4 separate regions of the Homo sapiens genome follow, and regions 2, 3 and 4 are each linked to region 1. Evidence: promoter capture Hi-C in 16 types of primary human blood cells and fetal thymus (Javierre and others, 2016). All regions are on one chromosome and are shown on one strand. Each heading gives the region's core, a stretch centred on a gene start or on the middle of the fragment in contact. The rest is flanking DNA. Distances are from core to core; before and after follow the strand shown. Region 1 holds the start of CTB-3M24.3 (a long non-coding RNA gene). Region 2 overlaps VDAC1 (voltage dependent anion channel 1). Region 3 overlaps LOC105379182 (a long non-coding RNA gene). Region 4 overlaps LOC105379182 (a long non-coding RNA gene).

Region 1 (5,378 bases), core at 2,615-5,114:
GAGTATCCCAGGCAGTGGCAATACAAAGTTTGCAAAGATCCTAAGGTAGGAGCTTGCCTAGCGTGTTTGGGGGCTCACAAGGGGGCCAGAGTTGCTGGACCAGGGTAAGTAAGCAGAGAGAAACTGAGCAAGTCGGAGGGCTGATGGGGTTGATCTCCCCATAGGGCTCTGTCGGCCATTGGAAGCCCAAGTTCTTTGCCACTTGGCTATATTGCCCTTCTCATTACTCCGTGAGGCCCACCCAAAAGTGGCCTTGATGAGGGGAGGGAGTGACATGGAGCCTCCTCCCCAGGCTTCTCCGCAGGAGGCTGTTTGAGGAAGGCCCTGTGTGGACAGGAGGGGTGCCGGTGGCTCAGGTGCTCAGATCCATGTGAGTGGACCCTATGCCCAACACTCGAGAGGTTTCAGATGATCACCAGGAGCCAGATGTTTAATTACTGGAGCAAGAAGAAGTTGATTTGGGACTCCTTTAAGGTTCTCCCCTATCGTGCCTTCAATTAAGATCAAGGCCCCCGTGTAGCAGCCGCTAAATGACACCATGTATTGAATCTCTGTGCTCAAGCAGTTTGTCTAATTATCTGTGTGATAGACTCAGCAGCTGTCAGACCAGCCACAACTCAAATACGTGGTCTCTGTACGCCTGCCTCAAAGTGTTTTATGCCCACTAGCAAGCTCAAGGACAGGACTTTCATGCTCTTTTCTAGATATGGGATCCCTTTCAGGTTCCTCTGCTGCCTAGTGATATAAGGCATTGAAGGGGCCAGTGGCTGGGAGGACAGTGGGTACAAGAATTGAGCAGAGGCCTGGGGGCTCGGCTGTTCCCTCCCTCGCCCCAGCCCTTGTGCCTCGCATGATCACTCAGCCTCTCTGCCTGCTTTTCTGGACAGGGAAGCAGTGACCCAGTTTGGGCCATCTTCTCCAAAGAGAGGGAGGAGCACTTGCCACTGTGTCAAGTTAACTGAAATAAATGAGGGGGATCAGGAGGCAGTGACCCAGGGGAGAGTAAATGACTGCTCATCTCCATCAGCAGAGAGTGTCTTCAGGAGTAAACACTTCCCAGCAGAGCAGGCTCATTGGATGAAGGAGGAACAAGACCACACCAAACAACTGAATGTAAGGTCTGTGGAGTTGAGTCCTCAGCCAGGAGAACTGAGGGACAGAACTACAGAAAGCTGGGGCCCAGCCCTGTACAGCATCCTGGGTCTCCGGGAACCACCCATGCTTCCTGATTGTAGGTGAGCTTGTGCCCAGTCCTGCACCTGGGTGCCTCATGAGGGCCAGATCCAGAACACATGTATTCTCCAGGCTAATGAGGGAAGACAGAGCTTAACAGTGACTACTGAGTTTGGACATCTCCTAGAGAGTTCTTCCCTCTGCTTTTCTTCTTGTTGTGCTCATTTCTGCTTTGATGCATTTTGATCACTTGTTAATGAAAGTAATCAGAGTGAAAACTACTTTCAAAAAGCTCCTCTAAAGGAAAGTAGCAAAATCACTTTGCTTGCAGGTAATTAAAATAGCCAGATGCAGTGAACTCCGTCCACTTATTATAAGCAGGGTGATCTCAGTTGTGCACTTCTCTTTGTAGCTGGAAAAAAGGGCTCATCCAGGGACTTAGCAGCCATGTCTCTTTTCTTGTCTTCCTTAGGGAACTTGTGCTTTCTCTTCCACTGCTTGTGTTCAGTGCACTCCATGCCCCCTTCAGTTGGCTAAGGTATGCCCAAAGGCCTGGTCTACAGTGGTCCAGCAAATGCCTCTTTGAGCCTTTGCCTCCCTCACTCATTCGGCCTGGCTAGCTCTCTGACTTTTCCTCCAATACACCTGTACATCTCTGTCTCTTTCTGCCTTCCTCCACCCCATCTTTGTCTCTGTTTCTCAGATGCTCATCCAGTGATCCATATTTCCATCAAAATATAATAAACCCAAGGTATTTTTATAGGGATTTTCAGAGATCTTTACTTATATCCAGTCAGGTGGAGCTTGTACAGACCCAGGTCTGCATGAGTCCTCATAGCTGAGACTTTAGTCTTTTCCCCGTGCAAGCTTGTCCAATGATTTGGGGAACCCGAGATTAGAGACATCAGAGGATATGAAGGGCAGAACCTTTCTGGATAGGTGGGTGATGGACAGGAAAGCAGGGGCGAGGAAGATGTCTCTTATAAAGCTACAAAAGAAGAAATACCCTAGACAAAGGAGGAGGTTTCAGAAGGGGACACCAGGGTAGGGGCAGGGGTGTCAGAAAGGGTCAGTGACACATCATCCTAATTCCGCAGAGAGTGAGCTTGCTTGTTCTCCTTCCCACCCACCTGCAGAACTCCAGATTTTCAAGGGCGTCTCTCAACTGTTTAGCCATGAATGCTGGTTACAGGGAAGTTAAGACCCCTCTCCAGATGCAATATGTCGTGGCAGTGACCATGGATTTAGCTGTAATTCCAGTCTGGTCAATCTCACTGGGCTGCAGTGAGAGTAAACAGAGGTGAAGCCTGAACAGACCTGTCTGAACACGAATGAAAGGGAAGCTGGCTTCTGCAACAGAGGAGGAGGAGAGCACACACTTAAGATGCAGCAAAAGAGCATGCTTTGGGGAAAAATTATTACAAGAAACAGAAGCTCATTTTAGACAGCAACTGTGTTCTACTCCCAATGCAAGAAAACATGAACTCTGAAATGAGATAAAAAATGGGATTGTAAATTGGCTGAGCCACAGTCAAAAATAAAATGGAAGCTGGGGGAGGTAAGGAAAGAATATAAAGAACCTGAAATACAATTGCAGAAGTTCCTTCTCCACTTCAAGCAGTCAAAGGAAAGATTAACCATACAGAAATCATAGTTGTTCCAATACAGGGAACAAACTTGAAAACCGCTCCCCAAATACACCGAGAATGAGAAGAAGATTTAAAAAATACTGTGGGAGAGGATGATAGTTATGTAAGACAGAGATAAAAGATTTAAAATAATAGTGATTGGTTATCTTAAAGACCTCAGAGCAATTCAAATGGACACAATAAGCAAAGAGAGATCCAAAAAAATAAGTGCCCTATACTGAAAGATCTATCAAATAAGTCAAAATATAATTGCTGACATTTTAGGTTTTGAAAAAAAAAATTAAAGTGATCTGAAATATCCAGAGAGAGAAAAACAAAGCAGACAAAAAAAAAAAAAGTCCTACCTGGTGTTGCACTGGGGGCTCTTGAGTGGTTTCAGCTGACCGGCTTGCCCAGGGGCAGCTTCTCCCCTTCAGTTACATTTGTGTCAAAGGTGAGTCTCAGACACTGTCTGGTAGGAAGGAAAAAAAACATTCTGTTCTTGGACTTTTCTGCGATATTAAGAAGCAAGAAGGCAATGAAGAACATTGGTAGAATTTTGGGGTGGTAAGACCATGATGCAAGAATTCTACACTTATCAAATGGTGATCCATGTATGGAAAGAATAAAAAGTATTTTCTGCTGGGCAAGGGTTCAAATAATACACCATCCGTGTACTCTTGGCTGGGAAAAAAAGTGAAAGATGAACCCTTCACATTCTACAGAGAAATCAGAGAATCTGACAAAGAGGAACTCAAGGCTTAGGTGAGCACAGAGGCTCTTGAAATGAGAAGGTGTCTAAATAACTTTTTCAAATATAGTTACCAAAAATTGCAAAGGGTAAATGATGAGGTTAAGTGCGCTTAATTTTCTTGACTGACTTATTGGAATTTCAACAGATCCTGCATAATCCTTGACTCGGTATGTTAAAAAGCATACATGAGGGCAATATTCCATCAGAGCCCAGAACAAACCTCATGCAGCCCCAGACAAGTGTCCATGGCTGTTCCCAGGTGATCTGGGAGACTTCACCTCCTGCCTTCACTGGTGTATCCAGAGACCATGGGAAGGATCAGCCACTGACTGACGTGTTCGACCTACGGTCGGGCCTCCCCGTGCCTTCATCTCGGTGGCTAGAGTGTGCTCCCCAGAAAGCATGCAGGGCTACAACTGAAGTGGAAGAAAACCGCAGCGGGTCATAGTGTGTCTTCCTTGTGTGATGAAGCCTTTGTTCATGGGCGTGTGTCAGTATGCCAGTGACATGGTCAGGACAATTGGGAAGGCCTGAACTATTGGTTCTAATGTTGCAGTCAATACAATGTGATTAACCAATTAGAGAGAAATGCATAAGAGCCAAATTCTGTTGCCAAGAAAAGGCAAAGAAGGTAGAAGAGCTGCCCTGTTAAGAGATAGAGGTAGAAGTTCAACCCCCAAGGCAATAAAGGGCCACCATGGGACACAGCCTTGCAGAAAAGAAGGAATGGCCATCAGGGTGGGGTGGATAGGATCATGGGAAATACACATTCTCATTCACGGAGAATGTGCCAGGCTGCCAGCCCACCGCCAGGGGCTGTATGGACGTCATCTCATGCACTCCTTTTCCTAGTTGGTGTTTACTGAGAGGCAAAGAGAAGCCAGATAACTTTCCCAGTTACTGGACTTGTAAATGACGGCACCAGTACTGGCACCTGCCCATCCCCTTTCAGTGTGTGTCAGTGGCCACTCCCATGATTAGGAGAGATATTTGTCAGGGAGTGGGGCTTGACCTGAACCTGGAAGAGTGGGTGGGTGGGACATGAACAACCAGGTACAGGGCAGGGGCAGCAGCAGAGGGAAAGACTTCATGCAGCTTTGCTGATGTTATGGCTGCATTCCTTCCTCCTCCACCAGACTTGGCACTTGCAACTGATCAGACAGCAGGTACCTAAAAACTCTCACTCCCCTAAAGGGAAATGAGGAGAAGTTAGAGTTACCGCAGACATCAAATATTGTATATCCAGTTGTTTTAATGAAATGAATCACATTTACACCCATCTTGTCTTTGAACTTCAGTGGCTGTCTCCACGTGGCTATGTGACGTGACAACCCCAGTGAGCACATTACAAAGGAAGAAAGTCCCCGCCAATGCCACGTGAAACACAGGGTGAGGGCTTCGTTGCACAGGAAGAAAAACGTCCATATTTCTCGGTCACACCTTTCTGTCTCTCCACTTCTGCCTGGGTTCCTTCTCGCCAGTGTCCCCACCTCTGCCCCCTGCCAAATTTCAGTGACATGAAGATCTCGTTTATGTGCCAGGCTTGTCTCAATAAACATTCTCCTAGCAATTTTAAAGGAACAAACTTTCCATATTAAAAACTTTTGTGGTTCTCAGGGTAAACAACTGTGGGTATCAGGAAGACCTGAAGAAATGGGGAATCTATACAAAAGGAAGGCAAAGTCCACTGCTGAGAAATGTGGTTTCTCTCTGTAAAACATGCTGACAGAAGCCCATATACTAATTTAGAGAAACAGTTGGCACAAAACAAGATGCACAGTTGAGCGTGCCTGTCTAGAAGGCTGGGAAGGAAAGAACTTGAG
Region 2 (5,373 bases), core at 1,709-4,208, 600 kb before region 1:
AGTGGACTTGACTCCATTCAGCCAGTGGTTTCTGTGAGTCTTCCTTGCCAGGTGCTATGCTGGGGAGAATGCTTACTTGGGGGCCCAGAACGGGGGAGATTATGCTTCATTGTCGGTGTTCAAGGAGATGGGGAAGAGAGCAAGACACAGATGAGAAAGCCAGCATCCAGTATGTTTACAGTGAGGCATTGGATAGGGATATGTTTTAGTGAACCAGCAAGTTCACTTGCGTGCTGCTGGTACCAACTACATGGTTGTGTTGTGGAACCCCACAGCCCCAAAAGAGCTTGGCCGTGTCGGAGCTCCTAGAGGCCCCAGGAGGGGTCCGGTCTGCTCTTCTGAGCTCTGCTCTCTGAGTGCCTTGTCCTTGGGTGGTAATCTCTTTAGTGGCCTTGTACTTCAGGCTGATGTTTGCTGTGGGTGGGGTGTTTTTTGACAGGTGGCTGTGCTTGTTGGATTTTGGGGATTAGCGATGAGAGAGGGCATTTGGGGAACATTTAATGGATGAGTGCTCTGCCTTTATCCTGAGCGGGGACCAGTCCAGATGTGAAGGCTGCTGTGTCTGGGAGGCGTCTCTTCTGTGGGGTCAGGGGAGAGTCGTGGGGAAGGCTCTGGCTCCTAAGGTCCAGGGAGGTCTTAGGTGACCCACAGATATTACCACTGGACTGCTTCTCCTTCTGCTTCCCCAGCCCCCACCCCGGCTGAGTTTGTGGCCCCCCTGGGAGGCATAGCACTGAAGAGGGGTACTTGGTTCACTGATGGTTTGTTAACCCTGTCGGGTGGAGAATGTTCTGGGCCCGTTACTGTTATGTTCTGTGTCTGCCTGGGGTTACATTGCCTCAGCTTTCAATCCAGAGTTGTTCTCCTAGGAAGGTGTCAGGTAAAGGGTATTTCTTGAGGTTCTGGTGGGTGGTTTCCTGGTCTATCCCGGGGGGATGCACCTACAGGGTTAGTTTGGGAGGGAGGAACAAGTGGGGAGAGGGGAGCCCCCAGACTGGAAAGAGCCAGTGGCGGGCAGTGTAAAATGGATCTTCCCCCCTCATCTCTCTACCCTGATACTAATGTGGGCTGACCTGTCCATGGTTTCAGCCTGATCATGTGCAAGAAATAACACAGCAGCGACAAAAATAGGACAGAGTAAACAGCTCGCTGCTCTTCTGTCTGTGCTCTGACACAAAAGTGAGCTGGGATAAAATTAACAAAGCATCTGGAAAAAGTAAAGTAGGACCTGGATCACAACTTCACAATTTAAAATTGTAGAAGTTTATACTGTTTCTTTTACAACATACTCAGTGAGTCTGTGGCCTCCTGCAATGCCTTTGAAGTTAAAGCTTTGGCCAAGAATGCAACTTCCATTGATGATATGGAAGCATATCATGTCATATGACATGCCAGGAGCATGTCATATATGTGTTTATTTGTGTGAATATATATACATGTAACTTCAGATGGTATATATGCAGATGAATTTTGATAATTTAGGTATACTGTATTTTAAAACGAATGGAATGGTCCTTCTGGTTGAGACTAATGATTCTGGGGATGGAGAAGGTGCAGGAGATGAGGCTTTCTCATGCATGACCCCCTCTCCTCCTGGGCAGAGCACACCATGTACAGTCCCAGATTAGGATATTAATCCTGTGTACACAGCATATACAGCATGCCAAAGCAAAGCCTTCCAGGAATGCAGTGTGGTCCTTAGGGCAAAGACTATTTGAGTTACTCTCCTTCCTTGAACACCGAGGTGCTTAATAAATGTTTGTTGATTGACTTAGTGATATGCAGCAATCCCAAGTAGTCCTTTGATGGTTGGTTTTAAAAATAAAGTTACACTGGAGCTCAATAAATATTTGTTTAATGTATTTGGAGGATGTATTTGGGTTTTTTCCATGTGAAGAGCTGCCAAACTGGTTTGGTTTTACTGTATTCTCTATGAGAAATATGAAGTGGGTTCCCATAAAGTCCAAAAGTTTTGTGAAAAGTTGGGCCCATCCTGGCATATAGTAGGTACTCCATAAATATTTGTTGAATGAATGAAATCAGAGCCACATGGAAAATGATGTTCCCATGAAAAGCTCTGATTTCTATTCGGTACATTTAATGTCCTAGTAGCTGACATTTTGTAAGATGATATGTTTTATTGGCAACAGTCCTACAATTCAGTAAAGTCACTGGCTCATGGGAATGTGTCTTTGACAGTTTATTCATTAAGCAAATATTTCCTGACTCCTACTCTGTTCTGGGCCTGGGCTCAGTCCTGGGGATGCTGAGGAGGAGAGGTCTAAATTGTTGATCATCTGTCAACAAAGACTCATTGAGTGTCTCAAGCTCTGGCCACAAAATGAAGGACAAGACAGCAAGGGCTTCTTGGCCCATCTGGGAGGATAAGCTACCTGGTAGTCTTAGTGCTAGGTGATTTTTATTGGTTGCTAATTACATCTAATAATTGTTATTGATGGAAAGCTAATTTCCCTAATTATCAATGCATTTATTCTGGTGATTCTTTTATCATAGCAGAAGATGGCTGTGCCACCCACGTATGCCGATCTTGGCAAATCTGCCAGGGATGTCTTCACCAAGGGCTATGGTGAGTGTTGCAGAGAGGGGGTGCCTTTCAGCTCACAGACTGAGTTGGCATGTTTGAGACTTTACCGATAACTGTTTAGGAGACCTGGGTAGGTCAGCTGTTCTGAACTTTCACGTGAGGGAAAAAAGAAGCTTTCATTTGTGTGGCAATTGTAGCAACTTTGGTTGTGCACCCAGTTGGACAGGCTCCTGCATTGGTGCTGTCAAGTGGGTATTCTTGTTTTCTTTTCCAAGTGTGGAGCAGCCCTGTGGAAGCTGCTGCAGTGGAGCGCGGCTTCTATATTTAGCCTGTGCTTAGGCACATGCCCACGAGGCCCAGTAACTGTGTCTTTGCCAGCTGTCAGGTGTCTTCTTATCAGACCCTGCTGGGAGTGCAGGTGGGACCCAGGTGGGGGTGCCCATTCTGTCTGCTGCTGTTCCATGGCAGCTGAGAGCTCCCCCCACGAGCAGCAGCAGAGACTGGGTGCCCTCAGCCCCTGTGGCAGGAGTGTGCTTCTTTTTAAAAAAGCATCCTGAAGCAACCATGAGGGAGGCAGAGGTGCTGTTCTCTAGTTATTTAACCTATTGACAGTTGTCTTCTTCTTTCTTTAGGATTTGGCTTAATAAAGCTTGATTTGAAAACAAAATCTGAGAATGGATTGGTAAGTTGTCCAACCCACATGGAACATGAGTATTTATTTATTTTTATTTTATTTTATTTATTTATTTTTGAGATGGAGTTTTGCTCTTGTCGCCCAGGCTGGAGTACAATGGCGTGATCTCAGCTCACCACAACCTCCACTTCTTGGGTTCAAGCGATTCTCCTACCTCAGCCTACCGAGTAGCTGGGATTACAGGCACCCGCCACCATGCTCGGCTAATTTTGTATTTTTAATAGAGACGGGGTTTTTCCATGTTGGTCAGGCTGGTCTTGAACTCCCGACTTCAGGTGATCCGCCCACCTTGGCCTCCCAAAGTGCTGGAATTATAGGCATGAGCCACTGCGCCTGGCTTATTTTTATTTTTAAAAAAGATTTTAGATTCAGGGTGTACATGTGCAGGTTTGTTACATGGATGTATTGTGTAATGGTGAGGTTTGGGCTTCTAGTGTACCCATTACCCAAATAGTGACCATTGTATGGAACGTGGGAATTTGTTGTAGATCAACAAATAACTGTCGTGACCTGGCCCGCAAAGCCAAAAGAAGGTACTTTTTTTTTTTTATTCTGGCAGTTTTTGTGGTTTTCACATTCATTCCATTTTCTGCATGATGGGTGGTCCAGGGGAACCATGCCAGTAGGCCCCCAGTTCAGCAGCGGGTAATAGAGGAGAATGGGTCAGGTCTCAGTTTTAGTTTTCCTTGTGCTTCTTATTTTCAAATTCACCTGCATTCAACCACATAAGTGTTTTTAAAGTAATCTTAGTAGTCCCTTTGAAATTATGTGTGCAGTAATTGTTGGAAGAAAGAAGTTTTGGGTTTGAATTACCGCTGTGTCAGCTTTAGCTCAGTGCTTTTTCTCTGTACTGCCCTGGAGCCAGGATGGAAGGGAGATGCTTTCCTGTCCAGACTGAAGAGTTACAGGGAGGAAGGAAGCTGTCTGCTGACAACAAATTCCCCATAAGATTTCTTTACATAGCAGGCTCCTTTACTCCCATCTGTACTTTAAATATCTATTTGAATTGTAGAGTTAGCCTTGGCCCCCCCACATTCAGGGTCTTGCCTCTTGCAGAAAGGCAAGTATAGTGTTTAGGAGTGAAGTGAAGCCAAGTGAGTGCTATGGTGCAGGCTGTGACTCTTCTCTCTCCTTTGAAGGAATTTACAAGCTCAGGCTCAGCCAACACTGAGACCACCAAAGTGACGGGCAGTCTGGAAACCAAGTACAGATGGACTGAGTACGGCCTGACGTTTACAGAGAAATGGAATACCGACAATACACTAGGCACCGAGATTACTGTGGAAGATCAGGTAATGGCTGCTGTGAAAAGATGTGGATTTATTAATTCGCATCTGCCAGCCTGCCTTGTGACTAAATCTAGTGGCAAATTTCTTTTCTGTTCAGCTTGCACGTGGACTGAAGCTGACCTTCGATTCATCCTTCTCACCTAACACTGGGTAAGAGTTTCATCTGTTTTCTCCACAAGGATGTTCTCTGATGTTGCAGGTGGTGGAAGCCCTTTGTGACAAAATGTTTTGGGGGCTGACAGCACCTAAAATATGGTCTCCGAGACCTGGCGATTTAAGTCCTCTGGTTTTGATTTGGTCCCAGGGGTCGTATCCACATCTATGCACTAACAGACTATGCTATAATGAGCACTTCCTAATTCAGGACTGGTGTTTACCCAACAAACGATTTCTAAGTGCCACCTGTGCTTGGCCCTGTGCCCATCTGGAGATCTAAGGGTGCCCAGGCCATGATTGTTACCCGCCAAGGAGCTCACTTTCTAATAGAGGATTCAGACCAGTGTTTAGCCGTGTTTTGTAATAAGATTCTGCATTTTGTTAGTGTTCTCCTAGTTTCTGCCATGGAGGTTGCAGGATTTCTGTTCAGTAATAGCCATTTCATGTGAGTTAGGCTGCTGGTGATGTAAGTGGCTATGACCAAACGGGAGTGGGTGACATTTGGAAGCAGGGCCTAACTGGTCACTGTTGCCAGCCTCATTTCTTCAGGCATGGAAGTCCTTCTCCCAGCTTCCTGCTGCTTAGGGACACTGAGACCCTGTGGGTGTAACTGCAAGGTGGCTCCTGAGGCTGCACTTTCCCCAGGCCTTCTGGCCACAGATGTAATAGGCTTGTTAGTTCTTGACCAT
Region 3 (5,315 bases), core at 1,908-4,407, 540 kb before region 1:
ACTTGGGCTTCGCTACTCCTCTGAGCCCAGTGCCAGACTCAGGGGCTGCACAGGACCCCACCCTTGCTTTCCTGGCCCTCACGCTGTGGTTCCCTCGGCCTTTCCACAACGCTTCCTGATTCTGTAGGTGCTGGAGCTTCTTCCTGCAGTGGTCAGTGGTCCATTGTCCTTGTCACACTTTTCTGACCCCAGTGAGGGGACAGTGTATTTGGATATGAATCTGTTTTGGTCTCACTGCAAGATTTGGGACACTTTTCCTAAAGTTGGGAAGGGGCTGGTGGTTCAGTGTGCAGGTTTCGCAAGCAATAGAGAATGGTACACCTGGCCTAGGCACTTGCTAAGACCTGGCAGGACCTCAGGGGGGTATCTGGCAGAGGCCCACCCTTGCTGTCACATCAGGGGTGATGTGAGACTCTTCCCTGAATGTTCTGCTGTGTACAGGACCCCCAAGAATATTGCATGACCCTAGGGAGGGAAAGAGGCCTCACTAAAACCTGACCAATGCTGGCTTTCTCATCAGCCTTGGAAAGTGGCTCATGAAACACCACCTACTCATTTTTCCCCCTAACTATAAAAGCAATTCGTCTTAGAAAATTTAGAAAATATGGAAGAATGCAAAGACGACCAGACTTACCCAGAACCCCACCACCCAGGAGGAAGCACTATTGCCATTCGGGTCTCTTTCCCTCCAGTCATGATTTTGCCTGTTTAGTGATGAATATATGCAGTTTACAGGATGAGGGTTCCACTGTAGAGAGAGTTCTGTTTGCTGCCTTTTGTTTAATAGCTGCACAATATTCTCCTGCATGGATCTGCTATCATACATTTCCCCTTTTTTGGGCTATTTGGGTTGTTTCCAGTTTTTTTTTTTTTTTTTTTTTTTTGCTATTATTAGTAATGCTGCTGGAAACGTCCTTGCATATTGGTCTTTATGTATGTCTCTGATAACGTGATTTGTCACGAGTCACTGTGCAAAGACCCAGCTTGGGTATAAGGAGGTGTCCCAACCCAGAGCTCCAAAGTTAGACACAAACACCCATTTTCAGAGCTCTTGTCCCTTTAGCGAGGGTGTAGTGTGCGCCAGATTAGAGCTAACCTTCTCTTTACCTGCCTGAATTACCTGCCTGAAGGGTTCAAGTCTTCCCCACAACCCTTTAAGGTGACAGTATTTCTGCCCCTGGTTGACAGACAAGGGAACTGAGGCACAGATAGAGGCTAACTACTTGCCCAAGATCCCATAGTCAGTGGCAATGCTGGAACTTAAAACAAACAAAAGCAAACCACCCACCGCAGTGCAGGGACGGCGGCTCTGACACAAACGTAAATCATATCGTCACTAGCTGACTCCCACATGCCCGTTCGCGTTTTCACTTTCTCTGCTGCTTGGGTTTTCCACACCCCATCTTCCGGGTGGGTGTCTGAACACTTCCAATTCAGGACTGTTGAGCCTGACACTTCCTCTGCATTCGCTTGGCTCAAAGCTCCTGTCCACCTCCATCCACCACATCTGAAACTTTGAGAAGGGAGCTTCAAAATGTCATTGGAGCTGGAACAGCACATTTGCTGGTGGGGGACCCTGCTGTGACTCACTGCTGGGCTCAGAGCCACTGGAAACATTTCTCTTGGTAAGGAGGCCAATGTGGCCAGCAGAGCTTTACAGGCCCAAGGCCCTGCCTGAGCTACCTCAGAAGAGAGGAGGCACCGTGTAGTGCTTCCAGAACGCCTCCCACGGTCTCTCAGCGGAGTGGGGACCCACGGATGTGCTGAGGAGAGAGATCCAGACTGTGGGTGACACATGCAAATGCCCAGTTGCCACATACGCTGGACTCTTCCCAGTTCCAGGAGCCTGCAAAGCTCCTGAGCCTGTCTTTCCAGAATGTTCTTCCAGCCAAAGTCTAAGGTGCTGATGAGGAAAAAGCAGAGTAAGACTGTGATGATGCTGGAGAATGTGTACCCATACTGGAGGCAGTATGGGGACTGTCGTGGGTTGACCTGTGCCATCCAAAAGACATGTTACAGTCTTAGCCCCATTATTTCAGAATGTGACTTTATTTGAAAATAGGGTCTTTACAGATGAGGTTTGTTAAAATAAGGTAACACTGGATTAGGGTGGGCCCTAAATCAACGGCTGGTGTCCTTATAAGAAGGCCATGTGACAATGGAGGTGGAGATTGGTGAGATCCAGAAGCGAGGAGACGCAGGGAATTGATTCTACCTGGAGCCTTCAGAGGGAACATGGTTCTGCAGATACTGTGATTTTGGACTTGGCCTCCAGAACTGAGAGAATACCTTTCTTTTGTTTAAAGCCACCCAGGTTATGAACACTAATATAGGGGGTGAATTGGAGGGCTTGGCCCACCCGGAGGCACTAGATTCCATTCCTAGAGGCTGGAACGATGTCCTCAAAAGAGGAAGGAAGGGTTAGGACAGGATTTTCAATCCAAAAGTCCAAGTAGAAGGAAACATATTCGAAGCTTGGCCCTTAAGTCTGTGATCTTGGCCTTCTCAATGGTCTGTCCCTGGGGCCTCCCCAGTTTGGTCAGGCTCTGGGGCCTGTGTGGGCCCGACAGTGCATATCCTCTGTGTGAGGACTGGTCTGGCTGAGAAGTTTCTGTGTGTTATGGGATCAAAACTGAGATTGGACTTTGTACGTCCAAGCCAGAAAGTAGAAAGTGATTTCCTTTAAATCATCTTAAAAAGTTTCTGACTAGAATTTTAAGTCTGTTTATCAGCACAAGGGACTCTATATCACTCTCTACCACCCCCTATTTCTCTATTTTAACTGGAAGATAAAAATAGTTAATCAGAGAGTCAGAGTTGAATGGGGAAAGTACCTGATTCTCACATTCTTTCCTTTTTCTCTCATTCACAAAGTGAATTTGGAGATAGGGAGCAGCTGGCTGAGGGAGGAGCGCCCCAGCATCTGTATTGATGGAGAAGAAACCCGGCTGGGTCCATGGGGACCCACAGCTGCCACCATCAAAGCCTCATCCAGCATAGGCCGGAGCAAGGGTAAAAGCTTATTTGCGGGGAGCTGAACTTCCCCTTCCCCAAAGCCAGACAGCAACCTGAGTGACCCGGTTCAGAGTGGAAGCCTGAATCCTCCCCTCCTTTCTCTTATTTGTCATTATTTAAAAATCCTTCAGTCCCCTTCAGGGCTCAGATCTTATTGCTGTTGATTCCCGCCCCCTCCCCCTTTTTTTTTTTGAGACAGGGTCTCACTCTGTCACCCAGGCTGGAGTGCAGTGGCATGATCTCAGCTCACTGCAACTCTGCCTCCTGGGTTCAAGCTTTTCCCACCTCAGCCTCCCGAGTCGCTGGGATTACAGGCACGTGCCACCATGCCCAGCTAATTTTTTGTATTTTTAGTAGAGATGAGGTTTCACTATGTTGGACAGGCTGGTCTTGAACTCCTGACCTCAGGTGATCCACCCACCTCGGCCTCTCAAGGTGCTGGGATTACAAGCATGAGCCACCACGCCTGGCCCCCGATGTCCATTTTTTATGCAAATGGTTGTTTATTATGTCTGCTCACAGCCCCAGGAGGACAGGGATTTTGTTCCTTTTGTTCACTGCTGTGTCCTCAGTGCGTAGAATGTGCTTGGCGCATAGTGGGTGCTCAGAAAATATTTATCGAATCAATTAATCTGAAAAAGATTGCTGCTTTGCGGAGACACGTGCTGACTGTAATCTCAAATCCACGTGGAAGGAGACAGAGAGGGAGGGCACACACTTTTTTCCTTGAAAGTGAAGAAGAATCCAAACCACATATTCACAGTGCCTGTGCCTGTAATTTCTCCAGAATACCTTTACAGGTATAAAGTGCTGGAGTCGGCGTTATGATCACCGTGTCACTGATGGGAAACGGAGCCTGCGTGGAGTGAAATAACTTGCTCATAGTGACACAGCACTGGGCCAGGAACCCTGCTGTCCTGCCTGGAGTCCATGTCCCATGCCCTGGATCAGTGTGGACTGTAAAAGTGGTATTTATTAATTTATATTTGAATCATGGCATTGAAAAAGAAAACCGGCTGATCCAGCATTTTCCAAAATGTATCCTAAGACTCTAGGTCCTCAAGATCCTTTGTGAAAAATCTGCAAACTTTTGTTCCTCCCACAGAGGATGTAGGGGAAGGATCTATCAGGATCCTGATAGATCCACACACATCTATCAGGATCTCTAAGTCCTACAGGAAGGGGGCCCATTTAACTTCATCGAGTCCTGTGTTTTCCTCTGGTTTTGAACTTTAGGAGGCCGCCCCCTTCCCTCCCTTTCTCCCTCCTTCTTTCCTTTCTAGTAGTAAACATCCTGCAGTGGGAAATTTGGATGCCATCCAATTCCTTGGTATCTTCCTTACAAGGAAGACCCTCATTCACCATTTTCAGACGATGGCATGGAGGGGAGAAGGGCCTAGGGCTGAAACCTCACTGCTAAAGACTCAGGCCTGGCAACAAAACCCTCCTGGGCTCTTGTGCTGGCTGGTCCTCTTGGGAAGGATGGCTGGGCTCTAGAGGGGTGGGTGCCTGGGGTGTCGCTAGCAGGATGGGCGTTCTGGGGGAAGGAGCCAACTCCCATAGCTGGCAGCTGCCCTCCTGGAGCTGAGTGGAACAGTCTGTGGTTAATTATTTGCTTCTCCTGAACAGCGCTGCCTACCCCGACCCGCAGCTCCCTGAGCCTGATTACATTACCCCTTCCAGGCAGATTTATCTCAAACTTGTTTGATGCCTCTCCAAAGAGCTCCATCTGGTTCCCTCACTATTCCTGACAGGTGGCTAACACAGCTCTCTGAAGCCCCCCAAACACCAGGAAGCATCTTCTACAGAACTGACTTGGCTGTTATGTCACATTGCTGTCTCCCCATCGTGTATTTGCTACAACCACAGACATTTGTATGGAAATGGAATCAGTGTTTGTAAGGGCTCATCTGCTCAGGCTGCCTTGTGAGCAGGCACTGGGGGACAATCTGCCCAGCCAGCACCCACCCACGTGGCTCCGAGGCTCCTCAGGCAGGACTTCTCTAGCCTCTGAGGGTAGGGGACACCATTGGGCTGGGATTTATGACCCGGGTGAGCCTTCCTGGGCCACAGGAGCATCTGCTTCAACACTGCAGCAACGTCTCTCCATCTCTTAGCCTATGTCCAGAGTGGGGCTGTCCCTCGCCGGGCTGCGGGCTGTGCTGTGGAGCGCTTGGCCAGAGGGTGGGACCCTGCTGTGCCAGGAACAGTGGTGGGGAGGCCTGGGGCCACAGACTGTAACGGAGGCACAGAGGAGCCATGTGCGGCACATCAAGAGAGGAGTTAGGCACGAGTGCACC
Region 4 (5,570 bases), core at 2,409-4,908, 560 kb before region 1:
TTTTGTATTTTTATTAGAGACAGAGTTTCAGCATGTTGCCCAGGCTGGTCTCAAACTCCTGAGCCCAAGTGATCCATCCGCCTCAGCATCCCAAAGTGCTGGGATTACAGGCATGAGCCACTGCACCTGGCCCGATTTATATTTCTTCCAGCCTGTGCAAGTTCCTGTTGCTCTCTGCATCTTTGCTAACACTTGGCATTGTTAGTGTTCTTAATTTCAGCTATTCTGGTGGATATGCAGTGGCCTCTCCTTGTGGTTTGACTTTGTCTTTCCCTGATGACTAATCATATTGATAATTTTTCATGTGTTGATTGGACATTTGCATATCTTCTTTTGTGATGTGCTTGTTTAAGTCACTTGCTTATTTTTCCATTGGGGTGTTTGTCTTTTTCTTATTTGTGTGAGTTCTCTGTTCCGGATATAAGCCCTCATTAGTTCTATATGCGATAAACAGCCACTTGTATGCTGTGACTTGCCTTGTCACTTTCAGAATGGTATCTTTTCATGAACAGTTATTTTTTTTTGAGGAAATTACAGCTCTGTTTTATTGAGGTATACTTTACATACATAAATTCATAGATTTTAAACATTTAATCAGTTTTGACAACTGTATATATCTTTGTAACTGCCACCCCCAAACAAGATAAAAGATATTTCCATCACTCCAGAAAATTCCCTAGTGCCATTTTCTAGGCAATTCTTCACCCATCTTCCAGAGGTAACTACTTTCTGATTTCTATCACAATAGATTAGTTCTGCCTGTTCTAGAATTTCAGATAGATAGAATCAAAAGTGTATGTTCTTTTCTGTCTAGCTTCTTTTGGTCTATATAATATTTTTGCTTTTAATTTTTAGATTCATCTATATTGTTGAATTATCAATAGTCATTCCTTTTTATTGCTGAGATTCATCAATAACACTGAGTAGTATTCATTGAGTGAATAAACCAAAATTTGTTTATCCATTCTCCTGTTAATGGATGTTGGTGGTGTTTCCAGATATTGATCTAGCTATATATGAATTTAATATTATAAACATTTTAATATATTAATCATATATTTTAATATTTAATAATTAACATATAAAATATTATGAGTATATATAACCTTTTTACTTTGAGATAAACTGTAGATTCACATGCAGTTGGAAGAAATAATACAGGGGTCCTATGTACACTTTACCCAGGTTCTATCAATGATAACTTCTTTCTTTTTTTTTGAGATGGAGTCTCCCTCTGTCACCCAGGCTGAAGTGCAGTGGCGTGATCTCGGCTCACCGCAATCTCTGCCTCCTAGGCTCAAGTGATTCTCTTGCCTCAGCCTCCAGAGTAGCTGGGATTACAGGGGCACACCACTACTGCCCATCTAATTTTTGTATTTTTAGTAGAGACAGCGTTTCGCCATGTTGCCTTGGCTGATCTTGAACTCCTGACCTCAAGTGATCCCCCGACCTTGGCCTCCCAAAGTGCTGAGATTACAGGCGTGAGCCCCTGTGCCTGGCCTGATATAGTTTGACTCTCCAAATCTAATGTTGAAATGTGATCCTCAGTGTTGGAGATGGGGCCTGGTGGGAGATGTTTGGGTCTTGGAGGCAGGTCCCTCATGAATGGCTTGATGCCCTCCCCATGGTAATGAACGCATTCTTGCTCTGTTAGTTCATGCAAGAGCTGGTTGTTTAAAGGAGCCTGGCACCTCCTCCCACCCTTGTTCCCTCTCTTGTCATGTGATGCACCTGCTCCCCACTTGCTTTCTGCCATGATTATAAGCATCCGGAGGCCCTTACCAGAAGCAGATGCTGGCACCATGCTTCGTGTTCAGCCTGCAGAACCATAAGCCAAAGTAAAACTCTTTTCTTTATAAATTACCCAGCCTCAGGTATTCCTTTATAGCAATAGCAAACTAACACGTGGTGGGAGGGCTAGACTGGTACCAACTACTCCATCATAGCTGGAAGCAGAAGTTTCCCTCTTTCTTTCTTGATGAAGTGAAGCATGTGTTGGCAAAGATGTTGAGACAGACGCCAGGCAGAGCTAGCCACTTTCTCTGACCCTTTGTCAGGTCTCTATGAGCAGTATGGCAACTACTTGTTAGGCTCTGTAAGTGCATAGCTGTAATGTCTTGCAACCCCCTGCCTTTAGCAGACTCCAAATGAAGGAGCTTCTACTACATAAACACTGGCGTAAGATTTTCTCGGATCCTGGAAATGATTCATCTTACCGTTACCACCAGATAGAGTGTGTTCATTTCTTATTACAAATCCAGTTCTGCCTATATTAGTCTGCCCTTTTACAGTGAAAAAGTTAAGGTTGCCCTGCTGCCTGGTTGAGAGTAGTAGACCGTTTCAAAGGTCTACTGGGCTTCTTTGCTGCTGAAAGTCATTAACTCATGGGCTAGATTGTTGGCCTTGGGCCTGTAGGCAGAAAGCCATGTAGTAAACACTGTTCCAACAGCGGGAGACACACAAGGCATGTCTTTCAGCCCATTAGGAAGGAGGCATGGCCAAATGAAACACCAGCACAGGAAAGTTACCCTGAGATATGCTATGCCTATAAAGAATGTGAAGCTTGGTGTCTCACTCTGCTCTAGGAGCCCACAAGCAACTCATTCATTCAATAGACATCTAGTGATTGCCTGTACTGAGCCAGGCCCTGTGCTGAGTTTTGGGGATACAGGGCAAGGGAAAGGTTCACCAAACACATGATGCTTGGATTGGCTCCTGGGGTCAAATCTTGGTTCCAAAGAAAATTGAGAAAAAATATTGCAGTGAGCTCATCTTTTCCACGTTTGAAGAAAAGAACATACAAATCAAGTTCATATTTTGGAAAGGAACCCAGAGATTTCATTTTGGAGCTCAGGAGCATTGCTTGGAGGGGGACCCCTGGCCTTGCCTAACCCATCCACAGGCTCTCAAGAACCCAGACCCAATTGTATTTCCATAGTGGAAGATAAGAACACACTTCTATCCTTTTTGGAAGCCTGAGGACTCCTTCTGATCCTCTCCTTTTCCTCTTCTCTCCCAGAAACAGATGTCTGAGCTTGAGGACACCAATTTCACATTATAGGATCAGGTATGGCCCTTTGGGATCCATCACTGGGTTACTCTAGGGGCTGGACCCTCCCTTCTTGCCCTTCTGGCACCCATAGTCTGTGGTTGGGTTTGTGATGGGTAGAAATGTGGTAGTTCTGTTTCAGGTGCCCTGAGCAGGGAGACTGTTGGCCAGGGTGAACATTTATGGGGTCTGTATGTTCTTTGGATAAGTGAATCTACCTCCCTAAAGTCTTGATGTTTTCTCTGAAAATTCCGTTTCTGTTGAAGGGGAGGTCTCTGCAGGTTCTAAGATTCCAGAGACTTCCTAGGTTTCCAAAGATGATTTCTGGGCTTCCTTTTGTTAGTTTTATAAATATACCTCTGACTTCCTTTCTTGGTCATGTTCTTGTGAGCCCTCTGGCTTTGGGGCCTAAGGTCATGAACAAGGGAAGCAGGCAGAGCTACCTTGGTTACTGGGTCTGGTTTTTTGGGGTTCGCTTGACCACATTGGTGGATAATACCTTGAGGCCAGGTAGGATGGTGTGCCTGGACACACCCTTGACCATATCTTGTCCTGATTCCACCATCCCCTCTCTCTGCCCTCCCACCAGCTTGCAGAGTCCTTTTCTGCCTTGTATCCATTGTCACTGGCAGGATGATGATGTTCCTTCCATGGACAGGCTTAGATTTTTGAGGAAACCCAGGTGTGTGTGTGTGTGTGTGTGTGTGTGTGTGTGTGTGTGTGTGTGTTTTAAGGGAGGAAAAGTCTATGATATGATGGTCAGAATTAGTTACAATGAAATAATAAAAGTTTGTGGATTTAAAAATAAAACAATTGGGTCTGGAAAATACACTGTAGAGGAGGTTCTCTAAGTGGAAATCTGTGAATGCTGTGGCATTCTAAGTTTTCAGTTGGAAAGGGATTACTGAGTTGGGAAGCTGTATCCTGCCCTGGAAGCTAAGAAGGCAGAGGGAAGCCTGATCTGCTACCAACTGAGTGGCCATCAGAAATGGGAGCTGCAACCTTCCTGGGTGATGGTATAAGGCCTCTTTGCTCTCTCAGTAGAGCAAGTATGAATGCCAATCAATGAAGGGCACAGTGTTTTCCTCATCAGCCCTTCTGCATGAAACAAGGAAACCATTTGATAACACGCCAAGGCTCACCAGAGAGGGAGGGGACTGAGGCTTCAAAGTGATGTGTTAGATTCTTTGGGAATGTACCAGAAGGGTATAGCTTCCTGACTCAGTAATCCCATTCCAACCAGAAAACATAGCATGCCACAGAGTCCACAGATTCCAGTTAGGCCAGGGAGAAAGGGAGTCCATAATTACTTCTGATAAAAGATACATGAATAGCCGGGCACTGTGGCTCACGCCTGTTACCCCAGCACTTTGAGAAGCTGAGGCGGGTGGATCGCCTGAGGTCAGGAGTTCAAGACCAGCCTGGCCAACATGGTGAAACCCCATCTCTACTAAAAATACAAAAAATTAGTCAGGTGCGGTGGTGGGTGCCTATAATCCCAGCTACTTGGGAAGCTGAGGCTGGAGAATCGCTTTAACCCGGGAGGCGGAGGTTGCAGTGAGCAGAGATCGGGCCACTGCACTCCAGCCTGGGTGACGGAGTGTGACTCTGTCTCAAACAAACAAACAAACGAAAAGATACATGAATAAGTAGGGAAAATTCATGAAGGTGTGGCCAGTATTGGATAAATGTATCCAAAGCTTTCTGATGGACCAGATTTTAAGAAAAGGATTTTCCTGGTACATAAACTGCTCAGAGCCTCCAAGAGTTTGATTCTTTCCTTCCAGCTCTCCTGGCACAGCCAGAGGAGGGTTTTGTGTGATTGGCCCTTGAAACATTATTACAATCACTTTGTGGCCTCCTTCAGCTTATTTTTAATTACAAGGTCTATTGCATTTTTAAATTATTAACTCTGACAATTACTTATCTTGGCATTTTCTTATCTCGATGAAAATGAAAACAGCAAGGTCATGTTAGCTCACTTGAGGTTTCGGTCTGCTGCAGCTTAAATTGAGCTGAATAGATCAGCAAATGTTTGCAGTGCGGGGACCAGCTGAGGTTGCAGAGGGTCTGCTCAGGGAACACGGGCAGAAAGAACTTGGCAACACAGAGGCTAGTTCAAGGGCGTTTGGGGCCCAGGTGATCGGAGCCCGTCTGTGGAAGTGGGAGGTGCCCTTGTAGGTGATGATGGCCCATAAGCAGCTTCTTCCCCTCAAGAGCTCTGCGTACATCTCCCCTGGGATAGACAGCCAGAGGCAGAGCCCAGAAGGCGATAGCGACCCTCTGCCTCACAGTAACTTCTTTCTCTGATCTTCTGTGGTGGTCCTCACTCTATGACAACAACAGCAACTAAACGATAACAATAAGTGACTGTTACTGAGTGCTTACTGTGTGTCTAATACCTTGCCCACGACACTTGGCAAATATCCATGGATGCTGGGCACTGCAGGCCCTCATCGCCATGCTGCCTTCTGTCCAGCAGGGGGTAGTGTGACTACACCATAAAGGGGACCTCCTTCTT

Evidence for each region. Contacts are between HindIII fragments. The CHiCAGO score rates a contact against its expected background, and 5 or more counts as called.
Region 2: a fragment that was not itself captured here is called in contact with the fragment with the promoter of CTB-3M24.3 in region 1 in 1 of 17 cell types (naive B cells); the score reaches 5.0 in naive B cells.
Region 3: a fragment that was not itself captured here is called in contact with the fragment with the promoter of CTB-3M24.3 in region 1 in 1 of 17 cell types (endothelial precursors); the score reaches 9.4 in endothelial precursors.
Region 4: a contact is called between a fragment that was not itself captured here and the fragment with the promoter of CTB-3M24.3 in region 1, in 1 of 17 cell types (endothelial precursors). The highest score is 7.4, in endothelial precursors.

Annotation. Positions count from the first base shown.
Region 1 is chr5:133,386,368-133,391,745 of GRCh38, reverse strand. It overlaps CTB-3M24.3 (a long non-coding RNA gene), which reads right to left and starts at 3,864. Exons shown (of 3, transcript XR_948794.4): 1 at 3,776-3,864; 2 at 3,167-3,273. The region is part of intron 4 of FSTL4 (follistatin like 4); the gene reads left to right. The HindIII fragment of the contact is 3,410 bases long and covers 2,043-5,378 here.
Region 2 is chr5:133,990,160-133,995,532 of GRCh38, reverse strand. VDAC1 (voltage dependent anion channel 1) reads left to right here. Exons shown (of 9, transcript NM_003374.3): 2 at 2,515-2,587; 3 at 3,178-3,227; 4 at 4,379-4,531; 5 at 4,626-4,678. The coding sequence starts at 2,521. Among named protein-coding and RNA genes, the nearest start is that of VDAC1, 12 kb to the left of the region's middle. The HindIII fragment of the contact is 476 bases long and covers 2,721-3,196 here.
Region 3 is chr5:133,926,497-133,931,811 of GRCh38, reverse strand. LOC105379182 (a long non-coding RNA gene) reads left to right here. Exons shown (of 5, transcript XR_948797.3): 4 at 2,875-3,012; 5 at 3,803-5,315. Among named protein-coding and RNA genes, the nearest start is that of WSPAR, 15 kb to the right of the region's middle. RefSeq lists a silencer at 1,039-1,118 and enhancers at 1,339-1,488, 3,072-3,121. The HindIII fragment of the contact is 271 bases long and covers 3,022-3,292 here.
Region 4 is chr5:133,944,406-133,949,975 of GRCh38, reverse strand. It overlaps LOC105379182 (a long non-coding RNA gene), which reads left to right. Exons shown (of 5, transcript XR_948797.3): 3 at 3,020-3,067. Among named protein-coding and RNA genes, the nearest start is that of C5orf15, 21 kb to the left of the region's middle. The HindIII fragment of the contact is 2,187 bases long and covers 2,565-4,751 here.